Linked DNA regions of Homo sapiens: region 2 is linked to region 1. Evidence: promoter capture Hi-C in 16 types of primary human blood cells and fetal thymus (Javierre and others, 2016). All regions are on one chromosome and are shown on one strand. The core of a region is centred on a gene start or on the middle of the fragment in contact, and the rest is flanking DNA. Distances in the headings are between cores, read along the strand shown. Region 1 holds the start of KRTAP29-1 (keratin associated like protein 29-1). Region 2 has its middle 12 kb from the start of KRT19.

Evidence for each region. Contacts are between HindIII fragments. The CHiCAGO score rates a contact against its expected background, and 5 or more counts as called.
Region 2: a contact is called between a fragment that was not itself captured here and the fragment with the promoter of KRTAP29-1 in region 1, in 1 of 17 cell types (naive CD4 T cells). The highest score is 5.2, in naive CD4 T cells.

What each region holds. Positions count from the first base shown.
Region 1 is chr17:41,299,009-41,305,998 of GRCh38, forward strand. It overlaps KRTAP29-1 (keratin associated like protein 29-1), which reads right to left and starts at 3,843. Exons shown (of 1, transcript NM_001257309.1): 1 at 2,818-3,843. The coding sequence starts at 3,843. The coding sequence ends at 2,818. The HindIII fragment of the contact is 6,603 bases long and covers 1-4,623 here.
Region 2 is chr17:41,536,748-41,543,737 of GRCh38, forward strand. No RefSeq gene overlaps it. Among named protein-coding and RNA genes, the nearest start is that of KRT19, 12 kb to the left of the region's middle. RefSeq lists an enhancer at 2,426-3,046. The HindIII fragment of the contact is 5,266 bases long and covers 40-5,305 here.

The sequences.
Region 1 (6,990 bases), core at 2,593-5,092:
GAGCCCCAGCCTGTTTTTACAAAGTTTTATTAGAACCCAGCCACACTCATTTGCTTACATATTGTCTATAAATGTAATGATATAATGCAATGATACAACGGCAAAATTCAGTAGTTGCAACAGAGACCATGTGCCCCACAAAGCCTAAATTATGTATATCTGTCCCTTTACAGGATAAGTTTGCTGGGCTCTGATATAGCACTCTATTTTTTGCAAATCTAATACCTGTAAAGTAATATGTAATTGTTATTTTAATTTTGAAATCTCTGAGAAATAATACTTTTGAGAATTCTTTCACAGGCTTACTTAAGGATTCATCTTCCGTGAAGTTCCATTCATGTCTCAAGAGAGGTTTTGCACAGGGTGTCCACCCAAAGATCGTTTCTGGGAGACATTCCATCCATGGCACTTCCTTTGTGATATCAAGTTCCCTCTCTCCCCCTCCTCCTTTTTGTTTCTAATTTTCTTTTTGGACCTCAAAATTAGTCAATCACATTTCTTATTTTATGGCATACTAAAAAGATATCCTTCCAAATCTCTTCCCCATCAGTTCCAGAAGTACAAGAGGCTTCAGTTTTAATCAGTTTGAGAATATTTAGAACCTCACAGAACACATCAACAAACTCACAAGATCATGTAAATAAATGAGCCCTCAGAGGTAGAATAAACTAACTTCTTCGTGTTATAGATTAGCACCCTGGTGTTACATAAGGTCATACAGTAAATAAGTGGCCAGGATGCAACTCAAGCCTTCTCCTTTGAGCCGTGGTCTAGTGCTTTTTCCTCACCACCACCATAGAAGTCCTCCTCTGAGTTGCATTTCCAAGCAGGTCATAAGGCAAATGCCCATACTCTTGTCCTTCAGTGACCTTGATGTCTCATTATTCCCGGGCTCTTTTGGTTAGTTTTCCTTCATCTGTAAGGTTTTTTTTAGAATGTCCCACACATATTGGCAAGACCTATTTAACTACTGAGAACCTCAAATCACAGTGATTGAGAGGACTGGAACGAGAGATGCTCAGCCAGTGACCATCAGGTAAGTTTATGAGCAGATCCTAAGGTCCCTCCTCGGGTTGGGGAGAAGGCCCGATCTGGGAGAAAGTCAGGGCACTGGTCATAAAGACATAAGGACAGAAGTCCAACCATTTAAACTGGGACAGGAGTCATCCAAAGGGCAGGGGGGAACAAGAGGGTGATATCAGCTGGGCCAGTTAGATGGGGAAGGCTAAAATGCTAAAATCAGTCTTTTAGTGCACTTTACTCAGGTTTGGCTAGGCATGTTTTATAGGCAATTGTAAATCATGGAGCAAATAAATCAACCTTAAGTGCAGCCATACAACTAAGTTGAAATGTGGTGTGTGTCTGTGTGTGAGTGTGTGTGTGCATGTATGTGTGTGCATCTGTATCTGAGTGTGTGTGTGTGTACCTGTATGCATCTATATGTGTGTGCATGTGTGTGGGTAGAAAAGGTACTGAAGGCAATACCCATACATAGTTAGAAATAAAAGGAAAATACCCATTAGAAGACTAGAACAGATCTAGCTACTTGAACTGTTGAAATGATAAGCCCACCTATATCTAGGGATTCAAGAAGCATTCAATGCTTCTTGAATTCAATTCAAGAAGAGATTCAGTGCTGACATTAGTCAATTCAACTGCAGGTAGAAATTCTCCACCTGGACCCTTCCATGTTCAGGTGCTAGATTTTGTTCTTATGGCCATCCCCCTCTTTTTTGACCCAGAACCTTCTTTCAAGACTACGACCCTTGTGATTCTAAAACTGGGGATAAAACAATTAATAGTCTCTCTACAGATCCAAAGTATACCTCAGTGACAGAAAAATGTGAACTATGAAGATTTGTTTGCTAGTTACCAAATTATTGCTGCTCACCTACAGGTACACCCTTCATTGCCTGCTCTATGATAATACAAAGGGATCCTATGAATATTTCTCCTTAGCCAGCTGACACAATGTCCCAGGCAGGAGAATCGCTTGAACCCAGGAGGCAGAGGTTGCGGTGGGCCGAGATCACGCTCTTGCACTCCAGCCTGGGCAACAAGAGTGAAACTCTGTGTCAAAAAAAAAAAAAAAAAAAAAAGAATCTTAAATGAATTAACCCTAAGCTATTCTCTATGGCCAATACCTCATGTTTGTTTTCATCTGTGGCTTTCCAGAACCATTTTTGTTGTTGGCTTCCTGTCTACTCACTATAGGGAAAATGAGCCCACTCAGCTCAAAAGAACTCTTGGTGGTGAAAATTTTGGAAGCCAGTGAACTGTTTGCCCTTACTCTCGTCCAGCTGGAGAATCTATAATCCTAGACACTAGCTACCCTTGCAGACCAATGCAGACCCACTGACTTAGATGACTCAGGCTCATTGTGTTCAAATGTGACCTGAAGGAAATCTACATAGAGGTGTGTGTAGGAATGAAAGCACTCCAGGAGTCTTATTTATTATACTTAACCAGTCACATTTTTATTAGCAGCTGGCAGCAACGAGGTCTTCTGAAAGACCAGGCAGCATCAAGAAAGAGAAACAAGAGAGGGTTTGCTAAAGTGAAATGAATTGACATCATCAGGAAATGCAAGCAGCAGTGTGGTAGTCCATGGTTGCTGAAAGGTTATTCTCGGTTAAGAAGGATCTCTTCGTGCCTGGACAAGTTCCCTGGTCAGCACCTGGAGAGAATGTGAAGGTGGAATCAGGGTAAAGTTAGAAAGCAGGCAGCATTTGTACTCGGTGGGAGGCAGGCACCCAGGGATGGCTATGCATTTATAGACAGCCGCAGACCCTCAGAGGAGGTGTGAAGAGGGCTCCATTAACAAAGTGTTGCCTTGCAGAAGCTGGACTCACAGCTGGGTTGGCATGAAGTCGGCAAGCAATTGGAGCCACTACTGGGTGATGTGCCTAAACCAGTCACACAGCAAGCTGATTTGCAGCCACTCTGGTTATAGGAAGGGGGTCCATCACAAGTTGGTTGGCCAGAAATCACAGTGTCACAAGAAGCTGGTTTGCAACAGTTCTTTGTGGAACAAGGGGCCTGGCAGTTAGCCACTGGCTGGTAGATGAAGCATGTGGAAGGAACCAGTTGGCAGTGAGGTGGCTGGCAATGGGAAGGCACACAGCAAGTAGTATTGCAAGAACTGAACACACAAGTCGATGGCTGGCAGGGAACAGGCATGTAGAGGGCTGATTGGCAAGGCTTGAAAATATAGCAGATGGGTTGATAATAAGTTGATTTACAGGGCTGGCCTTCACCACTGACGGGTTGACATGAACTTCCTTGGCACCAAGTTGGTTGGCATGGACTAGCTGTACAGATGGTTGGTAGGCAAGAAGTTTCCGGACAGGAGGTCACTTCAGAGCAGGATGGCTGGCAGGATCCAGCATCACAGCAGACTGATTGGCCACAAGCTGCCTGACATGATCCAGACATGCAGACAGATTCCTGGCAGGAGCTTTGCTGGCAGGGACTGGCATCGCAGCACTTTTCCTGACAACAAGTAGATTCCGAGCAGGATGGCTGACATGAGCTAACCAGACAAGGAGACTGACCAGTGCCAGACTGATAGCAGGCTGCGTGGGAGCACATAGGTTGGCAAACAAAACCCACACAAGACGTTGCTGGAAGGCGGGTAGGTTGACACGAAGCAGGATCACAGCCACTTGGGGCACCAATGGATGGCTGACAGCTTTCTTGGCATGTGACCAGTTGCCACATTCTGCTGTGGCAGGAACTAGGCAAACAGAGAGCATGTCGAAATCCACCTTTAACTGGGTATGTGGTGATGGTGGGCACAGCTGGAATGGCTGTGGTGTTTCCAGGACAACAGCCGTCTGCCATGGTGCTGGTGCTGACCTTGCTGGGAAGTTGCAAGCTCAGTATACCTGCATTGGAAAGACATCCGATACAGAGGGGCTTTTATAGTCCTTCACTAGGGGTGTTGGCACGCCATGCAGCATCTTTCCTTGTTATTGTTTTTACTCATTTGCATGCAAACATCTGATTAGCAGGCTTCAGGAGCCTGGGAGATGTTTCAACTTTGAAAAGGTGTCTGTTGAGTCGGGAGTTTTCTGCGCTGCATTTGGATTCGTTGACACTGCTCCTGCTCTTGGATGAGCTGTCTCTTTTACAGGTTGCTCTCCAGCCTCACTGAAGCAGGCCTTTCCTGGCACTAACCTTTCATCAGGAGGCCTCTGCCAAGCCAGAGTGGCCCTGCTGTTCCTCCAGGAATGCAGCTTTGCACCATTCAATCAGAAATGAAGCCTTGACCCAGTTTGGGGAGAGGATGTCAAGACGGGAAATGGAAAATTAGTCCAAGGAACCCAGGGACACTTAAGTGCCTCTACCTCTTTTTAAAACCTTCCCATTTATCATTCCTGAAACTTGTTTACTAGTACTATTACTAATAATAACAATAGAAATGGCTTTCATTTATTGCATAGTTACTAGATCAAGTCCTTGGCTGCATTTTTCACTGGATCCTCACAATGACTTCAGTAAGTATAATTGTCATCACTATGTTAGAAGTGGCAAAACTAAAAAAAAGTAATAAATAAAGAAGAAACCAGGTTTAAAACAAAGTTAAGATTAAAATATAAAACTTCATTGGCCCTTTTAGGAAGCTTAAAATCTCCCCCAAATTGGTTCCTCTCAAGATTTTTTTAGAACAGAAAAGAAGAAAACAGAAGTGGCAAAACTCATAGAGTTTAAATCATGTTCCCAAAATTATGCAAATGAAAAGGGGTAGAAACAAAATTCAAACCTAGCTTTGTCTGACCACCAAACCCCTGATCTTAACCACCTATTAGACCCCCTGACTTTGGGGAGGCAGGGAGAAGGCGACACTGATATAGTGGCTGCAGGCTGACACCCCTATGGCAACAGACTGGCTCGTGAGCAGGTTGCCCAGGCCCCATCCTGGGGATCCTCCGCCCACTCCAGTGACTGTAATCAGCAGCTAGACCACACTGGTGTGAGTACTTACCTCTACTTATCAATACACTCAAACACAGTCTTTTAATTTTGGAAATTTTTTAAACTACCAAATATTTCATCAGGAAGTATCAAACCCACCCTAGGGCATCAATAGCATATGAATTCTATACAAATAAAAACACGCCAGCAGTGATAATAAAAAAAATCACTGTAAAGTGGTGTTAATGTTAAACCAATCCCTTCCAAGAGGAATTCGTGAGGGACTTTCTTGGCCCTTCTGCTTTTCCTCCGGGCTTGTCCTGGCTCCGCATCACCAACCAGGTCCGGTGTTCTACACCAGCCAACGTTCTGGCCGGTTCACGCTGGAGGCACATGACGGAGTGGAAAGATCACGGTGTGGGGAGCCAGATGGGGCTGGCCTTGATTTCTGGCTCTGCCACTAACTCATTCTGTTGAATATGTTAGCTAATTACCTAAGTCTTCAAAGTATGGCGATTTCATCAACTGCGTTGTCATGTCTCAGGTTAGTTTTTTGTGGGTGTTTGTTTGCTTTGGTTGCTTCACAAATTATTGAAAATACTGAAAACGCTGAAGGGTACTTTGCAAACCCCCAGCTACAAAATGCCTTCTCCTTGGCACCCTCTTCACCTCCATTTTAAAAAGAAGAGAAACATTTTTGATCAGAACAATGTCTGGAAAACCTTCTCCCCTGCCATTGAAATGCCTTTTTCCCCACAGTTGGTTTCTATGTCACACCATGGATCACTTCTTTTGCCCTCCTTCTTGTCTGTATTCATGTTGGCATCTTTCAATCTGCAGGAATCCATGCACTGTGTTTTATTGCTGAATATTTACCCCCAAAGCTCTTCATCTTCCCAGAGGATGTATTTAATACTTTCAGTCTTACCAAATATGTCAATCAAACTGGGAACATGAGCATGTTTGAAAAATCACATCAACTTCAGTCCAATATCCTATACCACTTTTATAGTTTTAAAGCAATCCATTCTACATCCATTTTTCTCTAAGTGATTCTGCTCTTGTTTTCTTTTCTCCTAAAGGAAACTCTTAATAGCAAGAACATCTGTCTTGCTGTAGTTCAAGGCACTAAAAACACCTAGTGTATCAACAAAGACACCTGTGACCACATTGAGACATATCATGATCCATACAGAACCTAGGCTTTGGAAAGAACTGGGTTTTAGTCATTTGCATGTTACTTATTAGCCATGACAATCGTGAATTTTATCACTCCCTTTATATATATGTGTTTGTGTGTGTACATATGTGTATAAATGCATGTATACTCATACATATGTGTGTCTGTGGTTTTTGAACAATACACACATATATGTTTGAGTGTGTGTATATATATACACACATTATATTAATATACATAAATATATACACACACGTATGGTTTTCTGGAGCTTGTTTATATCAATCAACACTATGTTAGTAAGATTCATCCATGCTATTGCATGTCGCCATTTTCCAGTCATCTTCACAGTATAATATCCCATTGGGTGAATATACCACAATTTAATTGTCCATTGATGGGCACTTGGATTGTTTGTCCTTCGAATTCTGCATCTTATGTATAGGTGAAAAAATAGGAGAGAATACATATTACTTCAAAGAATTGCTGTAATCCATATGAAATGCTTAGTCCAGTGCTTGGCACAGAGGTTCAAAACCCTAGCCAACTCCTGTGTGTGTGTGTGTGTGTGTGTGTGTGTGTGTGTTTAGACAGAATCTCTCTCTGTCGCCCAGGCTGGAGTGCAGTGAAGTGATCTTGGCTCACTGCAACCTCCTTCCAGATTCAAGCAATTCTCCTGCCTCAGCCTCCTAGTAGCTGGGACTACAGGCGTGCGCCACCATGACCAGCTAATTTTTGTATTTTTAGTAGAGATGCGGTTTCACCACGTTGGCCAGGCTGGTCTCGAACTCCTGACCTCAGGTGATTCACCCACCTCGGCCTCCCGAAGTGCTGGGATTATAGGCTTTAGCCACAGCATCCGGCTGGCCAACTCCCCTCTTGACTCTGGAAGG
Region 2 (6,990 bases), core at 1,423-3,922, 240 kb after region 1:
CCTTTCAAAACCCATCTGATCCCACGACTCCTGAGGGGAAGCTTCAGCTCTGTACTCCCCCTCACCTGGGAAGGTTCCCGTCCAGAAACTCAAATTGTCCTCCTCGGATGCAGGGGTCTTGGACACTGCAAGCATTTTCACTGAACACCCGCTGTATGCTGGAGGCCACCTCCACCCGGCGTTGGCCAGAGCATCCTCCCTGCCTACCTGCCCCCTCCCTTTACCTGGATGGCAGCCATGCCAGCTCCTCTCAGTTCCATTGGCATGGGTTTCTTCTCCCTGATATGTCCACCCTGACCCGCTCAGGCTGGGTCAGCATTCCCACCCCCACCCACTTGCCCAGCACTTACCACAGCTCTGTCTCCCCATCTAGACTTGGAGCTTCTGTATCTAGCCCCAGGGCTGACTCCAGCACTAGTAAACATTTAATGATTATTTGCCAGAACAGAGCCTTCTCCTGAAGCCCTTTTATTTTTTTTCATTTAACACCAATTATGGTCCACCTTCTGTGTGCCAGGCACCTTCTAGACTCTGGGCTTCAAGAGCAGGGCAGTCTAAAGCTGCCTGCCCTCCTGGGGCTTTCATCTGGGGTAGGGGGCAGAGTAGCAAAGCCAGGGAGGGGGTCAGCAGGGAAGGCCATTGAGGGGTGGTCAGGGAAGGCCTCTCTGAGGAGGTGACACATGAACAGAGACCTGAATGAGGCAAAGGAGCCCTCAGATCCCCAGGGAAGATTATTCCAAGCCAAGGGCACAGCAAAGCCAAAATCCCTAAGGAAGAGGGAGCTTGGTCTGTTCAGGCAACACCAAGAAGTCCCAGTGGTTAAGAGGGGTGAGCCAGAATGACAGTGTGCAGGAGATGAGCCCAGGGGAGGCCAGGACAGAGCACTCGGTGTCTGCGGTCTAATGGAGGCGCTGGCTTTTATCTTGAGAGTAATGGTGCTTTGAGCAGAGGAGCACTGGGACGCCCTCCCCACCCCTGGCTGCTCCCTGTGGAATAGACCGTGGGGCCCAAAGAGCTGGAGATCTAATAAGAGGCTCTAATGGAGTTCAGGTGAGAGACACTGGGGGCTTGTTCTGGGGAGACATCAGAGGACTTCAGGAACAGTGGCCTGGTGCAAGGGATATCCCGAGGGCAGAGCCAGCAGGTCAGGCTGACGATTCATGGGGAGGACAAGGGAAGGAGAGAATCTTGCATGGCTCCTGGTTGAGGTGTGAGCCTCCTATTTGCACTGAGGTCAGGAAGCTGGTCTGGGACGGTGGTTTATCTAATCCACCTCCAGGAAAGGAATCACACCGGGGCCCTCCTAGATCTGTGTTGGAACGCGTCCTGGCAGAATTAGGTTCTACTAACCAAGCAATGACTGTACCCCGATCTCTGCCAGCGCTGATGCCTGCTGAGGGAGGGGAAGGACAAGGGCTGTGTCCACCTGGGCCCTGCCTTCACAGACGGAGCCCACAGTTAGGGGTTGGTATGAAAGAGGCGACTTTCTTTTTTTTTTTTTTTTTTTTCTTTTTTTTTTTTGAGACAGAGTCTTACTCCATCACCCAAGCTGGAATGCAGTGGCGCAATCTTGGCTCAGTGCAACTTCTGCCTCTTGGGTTCAAGTGATTCTCCTGCCTCAGCCTCCTGAATAGCTGGGATTACAGGTGCCTGCCATCACACCTGGCTAATTTTTATATTGTTAGTAGAGGCAGCGTTTCACCATGTTGGCCAGGCTGGTCTCAAACTCCTGACCTCAAGTGATCCACCCACCTCAGCCTTCCAAACTGCTGGGATTACTGGCGTGAGCCACTGCGCCCAGCCAAGAGACAGATGATTTCTAATGAAGATCTGTGTTTTCTACATTTTCAAAAAAGCAGCAGTGAGCATGTCTCACCTCTAGCATGGGTTGAGGGGAGTGCTTATTATTTTCAATTCTGACTCATTCCAGGCTCCACTGGCTTTAGGCTGGCAAGCGGGGCCTTGCAGACTTGGGGGAGGGGTGGTCAGGTTAGTGAGTTTCTGGACCAGGTGAGCAGGGGGTTGGGGCAGAAGGGGCATTCCTAACAGCAGCTGGAAGGAGCTTCAGAGCTGCTCTGGAGACAGGATGCTGAGGCCCTGCTCATCCCGGCTCCAACCGGCTGCAGGATAAACATTCATCAGGCAGAAACCACAGAGAATCACATAGCGAGATGGGCTGCCAGGAGCTGGGAATACCAGGAATGCCCAGGCCTGGGGACTAAGGGGGAGATGAGGGAGAACGGGGGAGATCCCCTTTGCCCCAAGGAAGAGCAGCTGACGCCTGATCCCATGAGAGGGGCCTGGTATCTGAAGCGCTTTTTGAAGTCAGTTGAAAAGGAACACTATCCCACCTCAAAGACACACACACAGAGTATTAACAGAAGACAAAGCCTCACCGGCTCCCTTAGGCATCTCACGTGCATTCCAGGCAGGAACTACCCAGTGCCAGCATCAGCCCTCAGCAGGCTGCCCAATTACCAGCCCAAGGCCTACCAGCCGTGCCAGCACCAGGGAGGCACGGGGGATGCACCAAGGAACCACAGTGCCAGGAAGCATCTTCTGCCCTCCCCTGGCTCAGTCCTGCCAAGACCCTTCCCCCTCCAGTGGAATGTGCTGGAGTTGGAGAGGAAAGTGCTTCCTCCAAAGTCCTTGCCTGGGATTAGGGCTGGAGCCTGTGGGGATGAGAAGATCCACCAGAGATATCTGTCCTCGCTGAGTAAACATACAATGAGGACCTGGTACACAGAAACCGAACAAACACATCCCAACAGGGATATCCATGTCTGGGGCTTCAGAAGAAAGGGCTGGAGCATGGGGAGAAGAGAGGAGGCTTCACGAACCCCAAGTTTCCCATTCCTGCCATGTCCATGTTACCTCATCCTTATCCTCACCTTGACTGCTAAGAAACATAGTAAGCATCTTCTTGGCCGTGCACAGTGGCTCACACCTGTAATCCCAGCACTTTGGGAGGCCAAGGCAGGTGGATCACCTGAGGTCGGGAGTTCAAGACCAGCCTGACCAACATGGCGAAACCCCATCTCTACTAAAACTACAAAAATTAGCTGGGCATGGTGGTGAGTGCCTGTAATCCCAGCTACTAGGGAGGCTGAGGCAGGAAGAATTGCTTGAGCCTGGGAAGCAGAGCTTGCAGTGAGCCGAGATAGAGCCACTGCACTCCAGCCTGGGCAACAGAGCAAGACTCTGTCTCAAAAAAAAAAAGAAAAAGAAAAAGAAACATAATAAGCATCTAAAAGCCCAGCAAGATGATTTAGACAAAACTCCTACACTTGTAGGATGGGGGCATAGAAATCTTCTAGCCCAGAGATCTTCAAGCCTCGCCTGCTAAGCCCTAAGCAGAGAGGTGGGAGCTGAGCGGATCTGCTGTGACCACCCACACTCACACACACTTACACACCTCACACAGTATTCACACCTACTCACACATGCACACACATGCATACACATGCTCACACATACACTCACACACTCCCAGGCCTTCTCACACATGCATTCACACTGGTTTTATATACTCAGCTTTCTGTGAGATTTTGCTTCAGCAAAGATTCTCCCTCTTTTAAAGCCCAAACACGTGCTTCAGCCTACCTCCAGCAGTTTATATAGGTCAGAAAACTGAGAGAGAGTGGGGCCTCAGCCTGCCTAAAGTCCCACAGCTGGTGTCCTGCTCAGCAGAAACCAGCAGGCAGGTGCCCTGGAGCCAGGATGTCTGTCCCCAGGGGACGACCTGAGCTCGGGGAAGAGAAAGAGGTAAACACTGTAGGCTCCTGACAAAGGCAGGAGGCAGGCCAGGGTCAGAGGAGGGACATAGACCCGGGGCTGCTGGAGCTCAGATGGAGGGCACCCTGAGTGAGGGATCAAGGCCTGGGTAAGCAGGGAGGGCGCCCTGGAGGAGGGGGCCCTTCACAGCCCCAGGGTGAGCCACAGTAAATGGTGCCTAGAGTAAGGACATGGAGGTGGCGGATAGTGGGAAGTTCCAGTAAAAAAGAAATCTTATAAAAACAGGCTAAATGTATTGGCCTCTTCCTCTATGCCTAACTCTGTTCGAGTATGTGGCATCCATGAACTTGTTTAAATCATCGAAGCTCCCCTATGCTGTGGACACTGTCATCACTCCCATTTTGCCAACTAGGAAACTGAGAGCTACTTGCTTAAGCTGAGTTTGGTAAGGCACCGGGCTGGGATTTGAACTCACAAGGTCTGGGCCTGCACCTTGCGGTCTAACCACTGTGTCAAAGGAAAACCAGGGAGCAGAGGCTGCAGAGCTGGTTCGAATCAGACAACAAAGGGCCTAGCAGGTCAAGCCACTAGATTTGATTTTTTATTTTTTTCCTGCAGAAGCCAACAGTGATTGTTTGAGCCAGGAGATGATACATGCAAAGTACCAGGTGAGTCAGACAGCAGGTTTCCTGAGGCTGGAAACACAGGGCTATCACCCAGCTGGGTCAACAGCCCTGTCCCAGCACCCCCTCACTCCTTCCCTCTGCTGCCCCACCATCATCGCCTTATCACCTCAAGACCAAAGGACCACAGCCGCCTCCCCCAGAGCTGACCTACCCCGGCAACTCACCCCAGCACCAGGCTCATCTGTCTCAAGCCAGCTTTGATCAAATCCCTGCTCACAAATTCTCACAGTCAGCCTGTTCTTTACAGCAGCAACTCGCCATGTGGTCCTTCCACCCCCAGGACAGAACCCATGGAGAGGCGAGCCAGGGTTACTGAATCGAGTCTTTGTGGATGAACCTGCACCTTTAATAAGTCTGAATTTTTAATAAGTTCTCCAGGTGATTCTGAGGCTCACTATAGTGTGAGAACCACTAGCCTAACGCATGAGATCCATGAGATATGGGAGAGGCACAAAGATGGAGGGCCCCCTGAGTGAGGGAGCGAGGCCCGGGTAAGCTGAAAGTGGGTAAGCTGAAAGCAAGATAAAGTGGCTGAAAGAAGCCTAGCCGTGGGCCGTTTACCTGCTAACAGAGGAAGTCCACGTTAGCATAACTAAAAAGTAACACACCTAGTTTTCTGCTTTCTGTCTGGGTGACCCTGGGCACAGGTGATCAAAGCCTCACTTGGCACAGCTGCCAAATTGCCAAGAACTGTAAAGGTCTAAAATTTTACTCTTTTTGCAAGTTAAAAAGTTGTCCTGCCATAGTTTTATGGATGCTGGCAGAAGACACGAGACCCTGGGTCAGAGACAACGACTTTATTACTCATGGCACAGCAAGAAACTTGAGCTTTATGTTGCAAAGAGCTGTGGGTTCAAATCCCAGCTCTGTGCCTTACTAAACTAAGCTTAAGCAAGTAGCCCTCCACCCCAAGTACCATGAGGACAACACAAAGCTTGACTCGAGTGGATGCTACACTACATATACAATGGGTTTTGTATCACAGCTGAGGAGTTCCACACTTGGGGGAACCAAATTTTTTATAATGGGCTGCAAGAAAACCTGTTTGATCTTTGCTCCAGAGAGAAATATTGTTATTATTATACAGAACAGTAAAAAAAAAAAAAAAAAAAGCTGCCTCTTTTCCAGAGGAAGATGTCATCTCTGTCTTCCAAGGAAGTTTACTAGCACATCCTTGAAAAGGCAGACCAGAACAAAAGCTGTCAGTGCCTCTGATTGCAAGATGTGCAGAAATACAAGAGATCCACAGACAATTGCCTCCCCAAACAAATGGGTGTATCAATATTCATCTCTCTTGAAGGTAACAAGTTTTAAATCAGATAATGTGAGAGAAAGTTCGTGGAAAAATGAGGACAATTACAATATAAGGAGATAAGAACATGGAGGCAAATAACTAGAGTGAAAGTGGAAAGTAATAAACTGGGAACCTCTTGCAACACAATTTATGGAGACAATAAAGCAGGAAGATATTCTCAACCCTTATCACCGACCCAAGGTTAATATCTTTAATATATATAAAGGGCTCCTACAAATAACTAAGTAAGAAACCAAGAACCCTGCAGGAAAAAGGGCAAAGAATATGAGCAAACAGTTCCCAGAAAAGGAGCTACAAGTTGCATTTAGACTTATGAAAACGTTCAACCTTACTTGAGAAGAGAAATGCAAATTTAGAGTACCATGAAATCCCATGATTTACATGTCAGATTGGTAAAGATAAAAAGGTTTGCTGGCCGGGCGCTGTGGCTCACGCCTGTAATCCCAGCACTTCAGGAGACCAAGGTGGGCGGATCAAGAGGTCAAGAGCTCGAGACCATCCTGGCTAACAGGGTGAAACCCTGTCTCTACTAAAAATACAAGAAATAAGCCAGGCGTGGTGGTGGGTGCCTGTAGTCCCAGCTACTTGGGAAGCTGAGGCAGGAGAATGGCGGGAACTCAGGAGGCGGAGCTTGCAGTAAGCCGAGATGGCACCACTGCACTCCAGCCTGGGTGACAGAGCAAGACTCTGTCTCAAAATAAAATAAAGTAAAAAGGTTTGCTAAATTACTATTTGTTGGGAATATGGGGAACTGGACACACCACACATTGCTGGTAGTATAAGGTCTATGAACAGTCATTTCCAATATGTATCAAAATCTTAAGCCAGGTATGGTGGCATGCACCTGTAGTCCCAGCTACTCAGGAGGCTGAGGTGGGAAGATTGCTTGAGTCCAGGAGTTCAAGGCTGCAGTTAGCTGAGATTGTGCCACTGCACTCCAGCCTGGGAAACAGAGCAAGACCCTGTCTCAAAAAAAAATTTTTTTTAATATAATTCTTTGACCTATCAATTTCTTTCACAGGTGTTTATCTTTCAGACGTACTTCTGCACATGTGCCAAATGACATGAAGTACTAGGAGGCTCACTGCAGTATTATTTATAATAGCAAAAGACCAGAAATGCCTAAATGTTCATTATATGATACATACAATAAATACATATGATAAGTATGCAATAGAATACTGTGCCACCATCAAAAAGAATGAGTCAGCTCTGTATAGTATTGATAGGAAAGATGTTCAAAGTATTTTATTA